Linked DNA regions of Homo sapiens: region 1 is linked to region 2. Evidence: promoter capture Hi-C in human tissues and cell types (Jung and others, 2019). All regions are on one chromosome and are shown on one strand. The core of a region is centred on a gene start or on the middle of the fragment in contact, and the rest is flanking DNA. Distances in the headings are between cores, read along the strand shown.

What was found. Contacts are between HindIII fragments. The study calls those that stand out against the background at their distance.
Region 1: the fragment with the promoter of PPP2R5D here is called in contact with a fragment that was not itself captured in region 2 in 3 of the 25 tissues and cell types used here (H1 embryonic stem cells, aorta and heart right ventricle).

The regions. Positions count from the first base shown.
Region 1 is chr6:42,983,226-42,989,807 of GRCh38, reverse strand. PPP2R5D (protein phosphatase 2 regulatory subunit B'delta) reads right to left here and starts at 5,238. Exons shown (of 16, transcript NM_006245.4): 1 at 5,104-5,238; 2 at 120-197. The coding sequence starts at 5,130. LOC124900215 (a long non-coding RNA gene) reads left to right here and starts at 5,494. Exons shown (of 2, transcript XR_007059580.1): 1 at 5,494-5,976. RefSeq lists silencers at 943-1,237, 4,880-5,029, 5,120-5,189 and an enhancer at 5,340-5,459. The HindIII fragment of the contact is 19,136 bases long and covers 1-6,582 here.
Region 2 is chr6:42,893,640-42,899,871 of GRCh38, reverse strand. No RefSeq gene overlaps it. Among named protein-coding and RNA genes, the nearest start is that of PEX39, 5.9 kb to the right of the region's middle. The HindIII fragment of the contact is 6,847 bases long and covers 772-6,232 here.

The sequences.
Region 1 (6,582 bases), core at 3,989-6,488, 89 kb before region 2:
TCCCAGGATATGGAAGCCTTCCCTTCTGCCTCACCCCCTGGGATCCCCTACCCAACTAGCCATCATGGAGTTGCGGGTGGCACCTGCACCACATCTAAGGCTACGCCTACATTCATTACCTCCTCAGTGTTCTCGCCTCCACCATCCTTGCCCGAGCTGCTAGGCTTGGCTGTGCATTTGGCAACCTTGGGGGGCTCCTGAAAGGAAAAGATGAAAGTAAAGTTAGCAGATGCCAGGAGAAGGGAGAGGTCTTATCTGGCTCCCTTAGATCTTTGTTGCAAATATCCTCTGTCCAGTTGAATCAATCAATTAGAATCTACCTTGTGCGGAGCTGGGGTGGGTGGAGGGATCTACGCAGAAGGAGATTCAGCCCCTCCAAAGAGTTTAGAATCTGGTTAGGAAGTCACCCCAAACACACACTAATTCAGCGTGAGAATGCTCCATCTTTCACCTCATCAGGCTGGTGCAGAGGTTGGGCCTGGGAGGGCCTTTGCTCAGGTCAGAACCAGGGTGAGGAGGCTTAAAGAAAAAGCATCAGGGAACAGCTGCTCACTGGTTTCTGGCTAAAGTGGTCAAAGGTGTGCCGGAGGCTTTCATGCTGGAGTGCAGGGAGTCACCACTCTCCCCTCACAGCCACCTGGAAAGACTGGGAGGCAATTTTTGGATGTCACAAATAGCGCACAGACAAGAGGGTGCTACTCAGCATTTAATCAGTAAGGCCCAGGAATGCTAACAGGTACAGAACTGTCCCACTCAAAATGCCAAGAGCACCTCAGTTGACAAGCACTAAGACAGGGATGGGGGTAAAACCCTGAACTGTTACAAAGAGTGAGCACTAGTCTGAAGTCTCCTTTGGGAACCTGGCAGCTGGCTCAGAGCCCTGGCCTGCCCAGCATCTCTTCCTATGCTTCGAGCCAAAAAAAGCAACTGCACAGGGACAGGATAGGGAAAATGTGAAAAAGACTTGGGGATTTAGGTCTGACTGCAAGCTCAACACAAATCATCCATGTGCAGCTCATGTGACCTTCCATCTTGTTAAAAGACCTGTGCAGACTGCTTGGCACTGACAGGGCTATCCTGGAGGATCTGGTTCAGTCATGAGCATCAGGCTTGGGAGGGGCCATGACAAATCCTAGTGTTTCTTAGAGGGAAATGCAACCCATACTGGGAGTGGATTCAAAGGCATGTCCCAAGACCAACAGCTGCAGGAACTGGGATAGTTAACAATGGAAGGGAGGAGTCATGAGGGATGGAGAAGCAAGATGGATCTTAAACAAATGAAGATGCAACTTGGATGCCTTGGATGCAACTTGTCCATATGGACCAGAGGCACGAGAGCAATGGGCTGAAGTTGCAAGCCACCTGAAGCTCCAAACAAGGAAGAATTTTATCATGGAGCAATTGCACTAAAACTGGCCACCTAGTGAAGCCGAAAGCTCCCCAACCCCTGAGAACATTCAAGCAGGGGCTTGGTGACCTCCTGTAAGGCATGTTGCAAAAGAAATTCAAGCCTTTAATGAGGACTGGAGGATCTTGGAAATCACTTCCAGCTCTGAGATTGTGCAATTCAATAGCAGCCAAGCCCCTTCAGTGAGAAGTGTTAAATCGAGTTATTGTGACTATGGGGGCAAAAGGATTTCAGGGAGAAGAGAGCTCTGTGTGGGCTGGAGTAGGGGGAAGGCTTCTTGGAGGTGGGGAGGAAGAAAGGTGTGGTGTAGAGCAGCTCCATGCAGTAGGGGGAAGGAGTTCCTTCTTTGGCCTGAGCACGCTCCTGCTGTATACTAACCCAGCTGGCCACACTGACCCTTATCAGTGGCTGAGAGCATGGGGTGGAGAGAAATAGGCCGGGGGCAGGGTGCAGGCAGGACACAACATTGAGGTGTCTGCACACACCCCAGACATGAACCCCTTGAACAAAGCTGACCCATCTTCATACATCTCCAATCTATTAGACCATAAGCTGCTTATTCTTTTTTGTACCCCTCCACCCACCCTACAGCACTCAGCATGATGCCTCAGACGTATCTTTCAAAGAATGAGCCTAAGAGAGATCCAGCTGCCTTAGTGTGTGGGTGTGAGTGGGCATGGAGGAACCAGGCCTACCACCCTTGCTCCCTGGCTCCTGCAGAACAGGTGAAGCACACACATTTCAGCCCAGCTCAGTAGTCAAATGCTGTGTAGCACAGAGGTTAAAAGAACATGTTTGGACTCAGCCCTGTGTTTTGGGCCCAACTCTTACTGGCTGTGTAATCACAGGCAAGTTAACTAGCCTCTCTGAGCCTCAGTTTCCTCATCTATTAGATGATGACAATCATAATACCCTCTTCCCTCAGCACAGTGTTAAGGCACATGAAAACCGTAGTGCTGGTCAATGTTATTACTATTATTATGAACAAGAAAAAAATCGGAGGGGGCAGGGGCACCCTACTCAGGAAAATAAAAGAGGTAAGTCCCAGAGGAGAACATGAAGGAAGAGGAGAGATGCGAATCCCTCCAAGAGATTATCTTAGCACCTATCCACTAAGCACGTACTTACCGTGTGAAAAGGAGTTGTCAAACCAAAATGAAACTTAGTTATTATCTCAAAGGGGAAGAAAAGTCTTGTCCACAATTAATTCCCATCCAAGGCCAAACACAAAAGGACCATAAGTGGCCTACTAAGTGTTCTGCAAATCCAGAAAAGAAAGGAGAGTTCACTCCTGACTGAGGGCTCAGAAAGGCTTTAGAGAGGAAGCTGTGAAAGATGGCCAGGAGAGAGGGGACAGGTCATAGATGAGCAATAAAGATCCTCCACCCACAGCCATCCAGACAAACCTCAGTCACACTGGCAACCCCCCTGCCCCTTAGAGCCTGCCAACCATTGAAGAAGGCCAAATGCAACTGAAAATCAAGAGCAGAAAAACCTTATAGGGAGGTGAGAGTTATGCCTGGCTCCATGCACCCCGTTACTTCCAACACCCTTTCCCAACCAAACGTTTACACCCATGGTCCTAGCAAATCTCACTGGCAATTTGTCTTCTTCACAATCTAGTAGGCTATTGCTTTCTGTGGATGGGACAGTATCTAGTCCAACAGACTAAAAATTACAAATGGGTGGGGACCTCACCAGCTTTCCCCGAATTCCATTTCCCTTAGCCCCTGTTGTGGCTGATTTCTGTGTGCATTGTCTACGACTGAGCTACCCAAACCACCTCCGCATGCCCACTCCCCAAGGACAGGGCCTGGGTGGGGCACAAAACCCTGTCCAGCTCACTACTCCCAGGAGGCTCACTATCTAGTACACCATCACCAACCCTGTACTTAGAACCTCAGGCCCTGAAAGGTTAAGGGGACAACTCAGAATCAGAGCTGCCTGGCAAATACAGAACAGCCCCAGGAGAAAAAGTTTGATTGAAAAGGTCAGAGATGGCAGCCCAGTAACCCAGCCAATCAGAGGGCAAATGAAAGCAATATACCTCTGGGGTCATCGAGCAGGTGGCCAGAACACCAGGCCAGAGCCAACCCCCACCAAAAAGGGCCAGCCCCAGGAGAGGAGAAGCTGGGGGAGGCTGGAACTGGTATCCTAGCATCCTATGTGTGAGTCTGTACCTCAAAGGAACCACACCTCTGAGTCAGACCTCAGCAACAGCAGGAAACAGAGGGTAGAAAAAGGCACGGATGAGGAGCAGGGGAAGGCAGCACCGAGGTAGATGAGGAAGGTGAAAGAAGGCAACATTAAGAACTGGCCTGTGGGCCAGGCACGGTGGCTCACACCTGTAATCCCAGCACTTTGGGAGGCCGAGGGGGTCAGATCACCTGAGGTCAGGAGTTCAAGACCAGCCTGATCAACATGGAGAAACCCCGTCTCTACTAAAAATACAAAATTAGCCGGATGTGGTGGCGCATGCCTGTAATTCCAGCTACTTGGGAGGCTGAGGCAGGAGAATCGCTTGAAGCTAGAAGGCAGAGGTTGTGGTGAGCCGAGATCGCGCCATTGCACTCCAGCCTGGGCAACAAGAGCAAAATTCCATCTCAAAAAAAAAAAAAAAAAAAGAAATGGCCTGTGTCAGGACATCATGATAAAGACATGGGTGTTCAGGGGTGGCTGGCCTGCAGGCTAAGAAGGAACAATAATCTGACAGTGAGGACAAATTCCCAATTTGAAGATGGTGTAGCTTAGGAAAGGCAGAAATCCAGCACTGGTGCGAAAAGAAAAAAAAAAAGGAAAAATGCAAAGGTTATCCTAGGATTAAGAATAAGGGTGAGGAGCCTACTCAGATTAGGAAAGGTGACTGGTCTAGGATGCACTTGGGTGACAGTTAGGAGGGCTTTGATACAAAAGAGGCCTTTAAGTCAGGAGACCTGATATTGCAGCTGGGCCTCCAGCAGGCTGTGTGACCTTGGACAAGTCCCTTGCCCTGTCGGGGCCTCAGTCTCCTCATCTGTACCATTAGGGATTGCACTGCATGCGCTCAGAGGTCCCTTCCAGCACCAACGTTGTGAGGTTCCATCAACAGAAGGGCTCAGTCCTGCTTACAAGTTTGTGTGTGAAGGAAGAACTAGAGGGAGGGGCCTAGGCCAGATTTGGGTGGAGGAGAGAGAAAGCAGCGCTGTTCTAGGTCAGGGGCTTGGCATGGAAAGAGAAGGGGCCGTAGGGGACTGCGGGGCGGCTGTCCCAGGCGGGTAGGAAGAGGAGACAAGGGGCTGCTCAGGGCGGGGCGAGGGGGCAATTCTGGAGGAAGGTGCAGTTTCAGATGAGGGGCTGCCCAAACCGAAGGGGGATCGGGGCCAGGGGTGATGGGGGGGACAGAAAAAGCAGGACAGTGACCTGGGAATGGGGCAGATCTGGAAGAAGGAGGTTACCCTGGGCCGGGGGTAAGAGAAGGGAAGAAGGGAGGGAGGTGTATGTGGGGGGAGTCTCTCCGGGGCAAGGTGGGGGAGCTGTCCTAGCTGCGGCACAAGCTGGGGGTGCTGCCAGCCGCGGGGGCGGAGGGCTGGCCCCAGGAGTCCTGCGGGGGCTGGACGGGAGGGTCAGTCTGGGGCTGTCCCGGGCCTGGCTCCGGCCCCTCCCAGAGCTCCGCGCAGGCTCCAAGGCGGCGGTGGGGGAAAAAGGGCCACGCTCACCTTCTCCTTTTTCAGTTTATAGGGCATCTCGGCCCGTCCGGACCCGGCCCGTCTCCTGCGGCCCCGCTCCGGCTCCGGCTTTGCTCGGCCGCACTCGGCCCGCTCGGCGTCTCTTCGCCACCGCCTGCGCGCTGCGCCCGGGTCGAGCGGTGCCTGCGCCTCCAATTGGCCCGAACTCCTACAAAACTGCCTGACAACCAGGCGCCGCCTCCTCGGATTGGTCATTGGAGCCAAGCTGCTTCCTTTTTTTCTTATTGGAAAGAAATAGTACAAACCGCCAGGGTTCGGCTTCCAGAATTGGCTGAAGTGGGTGGTCCCGCCCTAAAGTGGGTCGAGCTTAGAGAAGGAGGCGGGGATAAGGGGAAACCCAAGCTTGGCTAGGAGGGCTGCACTCCAGCGTCTGCTGTGCGTCGGCCTCGGCCATTCTTCGCGGCGCTTGGAGCCCTGCTCTTTCCTTCTAAAGGCTCTCACACTTTGCCCGCTCTGCTACCCTGTCCAGTCGGAATTGGAGGAAGGAAGCCCTAATACGGAGGGCACCTTTCTTCACTGGGGTAAAGTAGCCCTAATTGCAGATGCAAAATTGATGGAGGGAGCTCCCAAGGACCTTCCAAGACACCCGCCTCCCTAGACAGGGGTTGCAGAGGAGCAAAGGGGAAGCCTGGCAGGGCTAGGACCTGGGCGAAATGAGTGGAGAATCCCTGGCTTGGTGCAACTTTAGGAAGAGGGTCCCCGTTGCTACTGCAAGTGTACTGGGATTGGGGAACCAGCTAGATTTGAGCAGTTGGGAACGCAGTGGAAAAGCAACTTCATTGTTGACTGTCTCAGGAAATCCATCCCTTACTTGCCACCCTGCTCAAGTCCGTGTTCTAATGGGTAAGACTCAGTTTATGCCCACAAAGAGTTCGCAGTCTGGTGAATCACAGATGTGTATAAACAAAGGATTAAGAGAGAATGTAAACCAGGCAGGCACGGTGTCTCACGCCTGTAATCCCAACACTTTGGGAGGCTGAGGCAGGAGGATCACCTGAGGTCAGAGGTTCGAGACCAGCCTGGCCAACATGGCGAAACCCCGTCTCTATTAAAAATACAAAAATTAGCTGGGTGTGGTGGTGCACGCCTGTAATCCCAGCTACTCGGGAGGCTGAGGCAGGAGAATCACTTGAACCCGGGAGACGGAGGTTGCAGTGAGCCGAGATCACACCACTGCACTCCAGCCTGGGCGACAGAGCAAGACTCTGTCTCAAAACAGCAACAATGACGACAAAAAGAATAAACCTGTGGCCAGGCTCGGTGGCTCACGCCTGTAGTCCCAACACTTTGGGAGACCAAAGTGGGCAGATCACGAGGTCAGGAGTTTGAGACCAGCCTGACCATAGTGGTGAAACCCCATTTCTACTAAAAATACAAAAATTAGACAGGGTGCGGTGGCTCACGCCTGTAATCCCAGCACTTTGGGAGGCCGAGGTGGGCGGATCACGA
Region 2 (6,232 bases), core at 2,946-5,445:
CTGTTCCCTGGAGTGCCAATCCAGGTGATAGAATTGCACAATTACTGCTTTTGCCTTGTATTAAAATTGGGAAAAACAAAACGGAAAGAACAGGAGGGTTTGGAAGTACCAACCCTGCCGGAAAAGCCGCTTATTGGGCTAGTCAGGTCTCAGAGGATAGACCCGTGTGTGCAGTCACTATTCAGGGAAAGCAGTTTGAAGGATTAGTGGATACTGGGTGATGGTGCTATCATTGCCTTAAATCAATGGCCCCAAAATTGGCCTAAACAAAAGCCTGTTACAGGACTTGTCGGCGTAGGCACTGCCTCAGAAGTGTATCAAAGTGCCATGAGTTTACATTGTCTAGGACCTGATGATCAAGAAAGTACAGTTCAGCCTATGATCACTTCTATTCCAATTAATTTATGGGGCCGAGACTTGTTACAACAATGGCATGCAGCGATTACTATCCCAGCCCCCAATACAGCCCCACGAGTCAAAAAATCATAACTAAAATGGGATATCTCCCTGAAAAGGGACTAGGAAAGAATGAAGACAGCATTAAAGTCCCAATTGAGGCTGAAAAAACTCAAAAAAGAAAAGGAATAGGGTATCCTTTTTAAGAGCGGCCACTGTAGAGCCTCCAAAACCCATTCCATTAACTTGGAAAACAAAAAAACCTGTATGGGTGAATCAGTGGCTGCTACCAAAACAAAAGCTGGAGGCTTTACACTTATTAGCAAAGGAACAATTAGAAAAGGGACATATTGAGCCTTCATTTTCGCCTTGGAATTCTCCTGTGTTTGTAATTCAGAAAAAATCCGGCAGATGGCGCGTGCTGACCGACTTAAGAGCCGTTAATGCTGTAATTCAACCCATGGGGGCTCTCCAACCTGGGTTGCTCTCTCCGGTCATGATCCCCAAAGATCGGCCTTTAGTTATAATTGATCTGAAGGATTGCTTTTTTACCGTTCCTCTGGCAAAACAGGATTTTGAAAAATTTGCTTTTACTATACCAGCCATAAATAATAAAGAACCAGCCACCAGGTTTCAGTGGAAAGTGTTGCCTCAGGGAATGCTTAATGGTCCAACTATTTGCCAGACTTTTGTAGCTCAAGCTCTTCAACCAATTAGAGACAGTTTTCAGACTCTTATATCATTCATTATGTTGATGATATTTTGTGTGCTACAGAAAGGAGAGACAAATTAATTGACTGTTACACATTTCTGCAGACAGAGGTTGCAAACGCAGGACTGACGACAGCATCTGATAAGATTCAAACCTCTACTCCTTTCCATTACTTGGAAATGCAGGTGGAGGAAACGAAAATTAAACCATAAAAAATAGAAATAAGAAAAGACACATTAAAAACATTAAATGACTTTCAAAAATTGCTAGGAGATATTAATTGGATTCAGCCAACTCTAGGCATCTCTACTTATGCCATGTCAAATTTGTTCTCTATCTTAAGAGGGGATCCAGAATTGAATAGTAAAAGAACATTAACTCCAGAAGCAACTAAAGAAATTGAATTAGTTGAAGAAAAAATTCGGTCAGCACAAGTAAATAGAATAGATCACTTAGCCCCACTCCAACTTTTGATTTTTGCTACTGCACATTCTCCAACAGGCATTATTGCTCAAAATACAGATCTTGTGGAGTGGTTCTTCCTTCCTCATAGTACAATTAAGACTTTTACATTGTACTTGGATCAAATGGCTACATTAATTGGTCAGGCAAGATTACGAATAATAAAATTGTGTGAAAGTGACTCAGATAAAATCATTGTTCCTTTAAACAAGGAACAGGTTAGACAAGCCTTTATCAATTCTGGTGCATGGCAGATTGGTCTTGCTGATTTTGTGGGAATTATTGACAATCATTACCCAAAAACAAAAATCTTCCAGTTTTTAAAATTGACTACTTGGATTTTACCTAAAATTACTAGACATAAACCTTTAGAAAATGCTCTGACAGTGTTTACTGATGGTTCCAGCAATGGAAAAGCGGCTTACACCAGGCCAAAAGAACGACTCATTGAAACTCAATATCACTGGGCTCAAAGAGCAGAGTTGGTTGCTGTCATTACAGTGTTACAAGATTTTAATCAGCCTATTAACATTGTATCAGATTCTGCATATGTAGTACAGGCTACAAAGGATGTTGAGACAGCCCTAATCAAATATAGTATAGATGATCAGTTAAACCAGCTGTTTAATATGTTACAACAAACTGTAAGAAAAAGAAATTTCCCATTTTATGTTACTCATATTCGAGCACATACTAATTTACCAGAGCCTTTAACTAAAGCAAATGAACAAGTTGACTTGCTAGTATCATCTGCATTCCTGGAAGCACAAGAACTTCATGCCTTGACTCATGTAAATGCAACAGGACTAAAAAATAAATTTGACATCACATGGAAACAGGCAAAAAATATTGTACAACATTACACCCAGTGTCAGATTCCACACCTGCCCACTCAGGAGGCAGGAGTTAATCCCAGAGGTCTGTGTCCTAATGCGTTATGGCAAATGGATGTCACACATGTACCTTCAGTTGGAAAATTGTCATTTCTCCATGTGACAGTTGATGCTTATTCACATTTTGTAAGGGCAAACTGCCAGACAGGAGAAAATACTTCCCATGTTAAAAGACATTTATTATCTTGTTTTGCTGTCATGGGAGTTCCAGAAAAAATTAAAACGGATAATGGGCCAGGATACTGTAGTAAAACATTTCAAAAATTCTTAAATCAGTGGAAAATTACACATACAACAGGAATCCCTTATAATTCCCAAGGACAGGCCATAATTGAAAAAACTGATAGAACACTCAAAGCTCAATTGGTTAAACAAAAAAAGGAAAAAAGACAGTAAGGAGTATAACACTCCCCAGATGCAACTTAATCTAGCACTCTATACTTTAAATTTTTTAAACATTTATAGAAATCAAACCACTACTTCTGCAGAACAACATTTTACTGGTAAAAAGAATAGCCCACATGAAGGAAAACTGATTTGGTGGAAAGACAAGAAAAATAAGACATGGGAAATAGGGAAGGTGATAACATGGGAGAGAGGCTTTGCTTGTGTTTCACAAGGAGAAAATCAGCTTCCTGGTTGGATACCCACTAGAAATTTAAAGTTCTACAATGAACCCCTTGGAGATGCGAAGAAAAGCGCCTCTGCGGAGACAAAAAACCCTCAATTGAGCATCATCGACTCGCCAGGTAAATAAAATGGTGATATCAGAAGAACAGATGAAGTTGCCATCCACCAAGGAAGCGGAGCCACCGACTTGGGCCCAATTAAAGAAGCTGACACAGTTAGCTAAAAAAAGCCTAAAGAACACAAGGGTAATGTGAACTCCAGAGAATATACTGCTTACAGCTTTGATTATTATATCAACGGTAGTAAGTCTCCCCATGTCTGCAGGAGCAGCTGCAACTAATTATACTTACTGTGCCTATGTGCCTTTCCCACCCTTAATTTGGGCAGTCACATGGATGGATAATCCTGTTGAAGTATATGTTAATAATAGGGCATGGGTACCAGGCCCCACAGACGATTGTTGCCCTGCCCAACCTAAAGAAGAAGGAATGATGATAAATGTTTCCACTGGGTATCATTATCCTCCTATTTGCCTAGGGAAGGCACCAGGATGTTTAATGCCTACAACCCAAAACTGGTTGGTAGAAGTACCTACCGTCAGTGCCACCAGTAAATTTACTTATCACATGGTAAGTGGAATGTCACTCGGGCCACAGATAAATAATTTAGAGGACGCTTCTTATCAAAGATCATTAAAATCTGGGCCTAAGGGGAAGCCTTGCCCCAAGGAAATTCCCAAAGAATCAAAAAGCCCAGAAGCCTTAGTTTGGGAAGAATGTGTGGCTAATACTGCGGTGGTATTACAAAACAATGAATTTGGAACTACTATAATATTATATAATAGTTATATATTATATTATATTATATACAATTATATTATATATAATTGTATGGGCCAGACTCACTCATGTTTACAGGCCCCATCCATCTGGCCCATTAATCCGGCCTATGATAGTGATTTAATTGAAAGGCTGGACCAGGTTTATAGAAGGCTAGAATCACCCTATCCCTGGAAATGGGGTGAAAAGGGAATTTCATCACCTCGACCAAAGTTAGTTAGTCCTGTTACTGGTCCTAAACATCCAAAATTATGGAAGCTTACTGTGGCCTCGCACTACATTAGAATTTGGTCTGGAAATCAAGCTACAGAAACAAGAAATCGTAAGCCATATTATACTATCAACCTAAATTCCAATCTGACAATTCCTTTACAAAGTTGTGTAAAACCCCCTTATATGCTAGTTATAGAAAACATAGTTATTAAACCAGATTCCCAAACTATAACCTGTGAAAACTGTAGATTGTTTACTTGCATTGATTTGACTTTTAATTGGCAGCGCCATATTCTGCTAGTGAGGGCAAGAGAAGGTGTGCGGATCCCTGTGTCCATGGACCGACAGTGGGAGGCTTCGCCATCTTCCATATTTTAACGGAAGTATTAAAAGGAATTCTAACTAGATCCAAAAGATTTTTACTTTGATTGCAGTGATTATGGGCCTTATTGCAGTCACAGCTACTGCTGCAGCTGCTGGAATTGCTTTACACTCCTCTGTTCAAACTGCAGAATATGTAAATGATTGGCGAAAGAATTCCTCAAAATTGTGGAATTCTCAGACCCAAATAAATCAAAAATTGGCAAACGAAATTAATGATCTTAGACAAACTGTCATTTGGCTGGGAAATAGGCTCATGAGCTTGGAATATCTTTTTCAGTTACAGTGTGACTGGAATATGTCAGATTTTTGTATTACACCCCAAGCCTATAATGAGTCTGAGCATCACTGGGACATGGTTAGATGCCATCTACAGGGAAGAGAAGATAATCTTACTTTAGATATTTCAAAATTAAAATAACAAAATTTTGAGGCATCGAAAGCCCATTTAAATTTGGGAACTGAGGCAATCGTGAAAGCTACTGATGGCCTCACAAATCTTAACACTGTCACTTGGTTAAAAACCATCAGAAGTTCCACTATTGTAAATTTCATATTAATCCTTGTATGCCTGTTCTGTCTGTTGTTAGTCCACAGGTGTATCCACCAGCTCCGAAGAGACAGCGACCAGCAAGAACGGGCCATAACGACGATGGCAGTTTTGTCAAAAAGGGGGATATGTAGGGAAAAGAGAGATCCGACTGTTACTGTGTCTACATAGAAAAGGAAGACATAAGAAACTCCATTTTGATCTGTACCCTGAACAATTGTTTTGCCTTGAGATGCTGTTAATATGTAACTTTAGCCCCAACCTTGTGCTCACGGAAATATGTGTTGTATGGAATCAAGGTTTAAGGGATCTAGGGCTGTGCAGGATGTGCCTTGTTAACAAAATGTTTACAGGCAGTATGCTTGGTAAAAGTCATCGCCATTCTCCATTCTCGATTAACCAGGGGCACAATGCACTGCAGAAAGCCACAGGGACCTCTGCCCAGGAAAGCCAGGTATTGTCCAAGGTTTCTCCCCACTGAGACAGCCTGAGGTATGGCCTCGTGGGACGGGAAAGACCTGACCATCCCCCAGCCCGACACCCGTGAAGGGTCTGTGCTGAGGAGGATTAGTAAAAGAGGAAGGCCTCTTGCGGTTGAGATAAGAGGAAGGCCTCTGTCTCCTGCATGCCCCTGAGAACGGAATGTCTCAGTATAATACCCGATTGTACATTCGTTCTATTCTGAGATAGGAGAAAACCGCCCTGTGGCTGGAGGCGAGATATGCTGGTGGCAATACTGCTGTGTTATTCTTTACTACACTGAGATGTTTGGGTGGAGAGAAGCATATATCTGGCCTATGTGCACATCCAGGCATAGTACCTTCCCTTGAACTTATTTGTGACACAGATTCCTTTGCTCACATGTTTTCTTGCTGACCTTCTCCCCGCTATCACCCTGTTCTCCTGCTGCATTCCCCTTGCTGAGACAGTGAAAATAATAATCAGTAAATGCTGAGGGAACTCAGAGACTGGGGCCAGTGCAGGTCCTCCGTACGCTGAGCGCTGGTCTCCTGGGCCCAGTGTTCTTTCTCTATACTTTGTCTCTGTGTCTTATTTCTTTTTTTAGTCCCTCGTCCCACCTGACGAGAAATACCCGCAGGTGTGGAGGGGCAGGCCACCCCTTCAAAATTCTTTATTATACAACATTCAATATGGT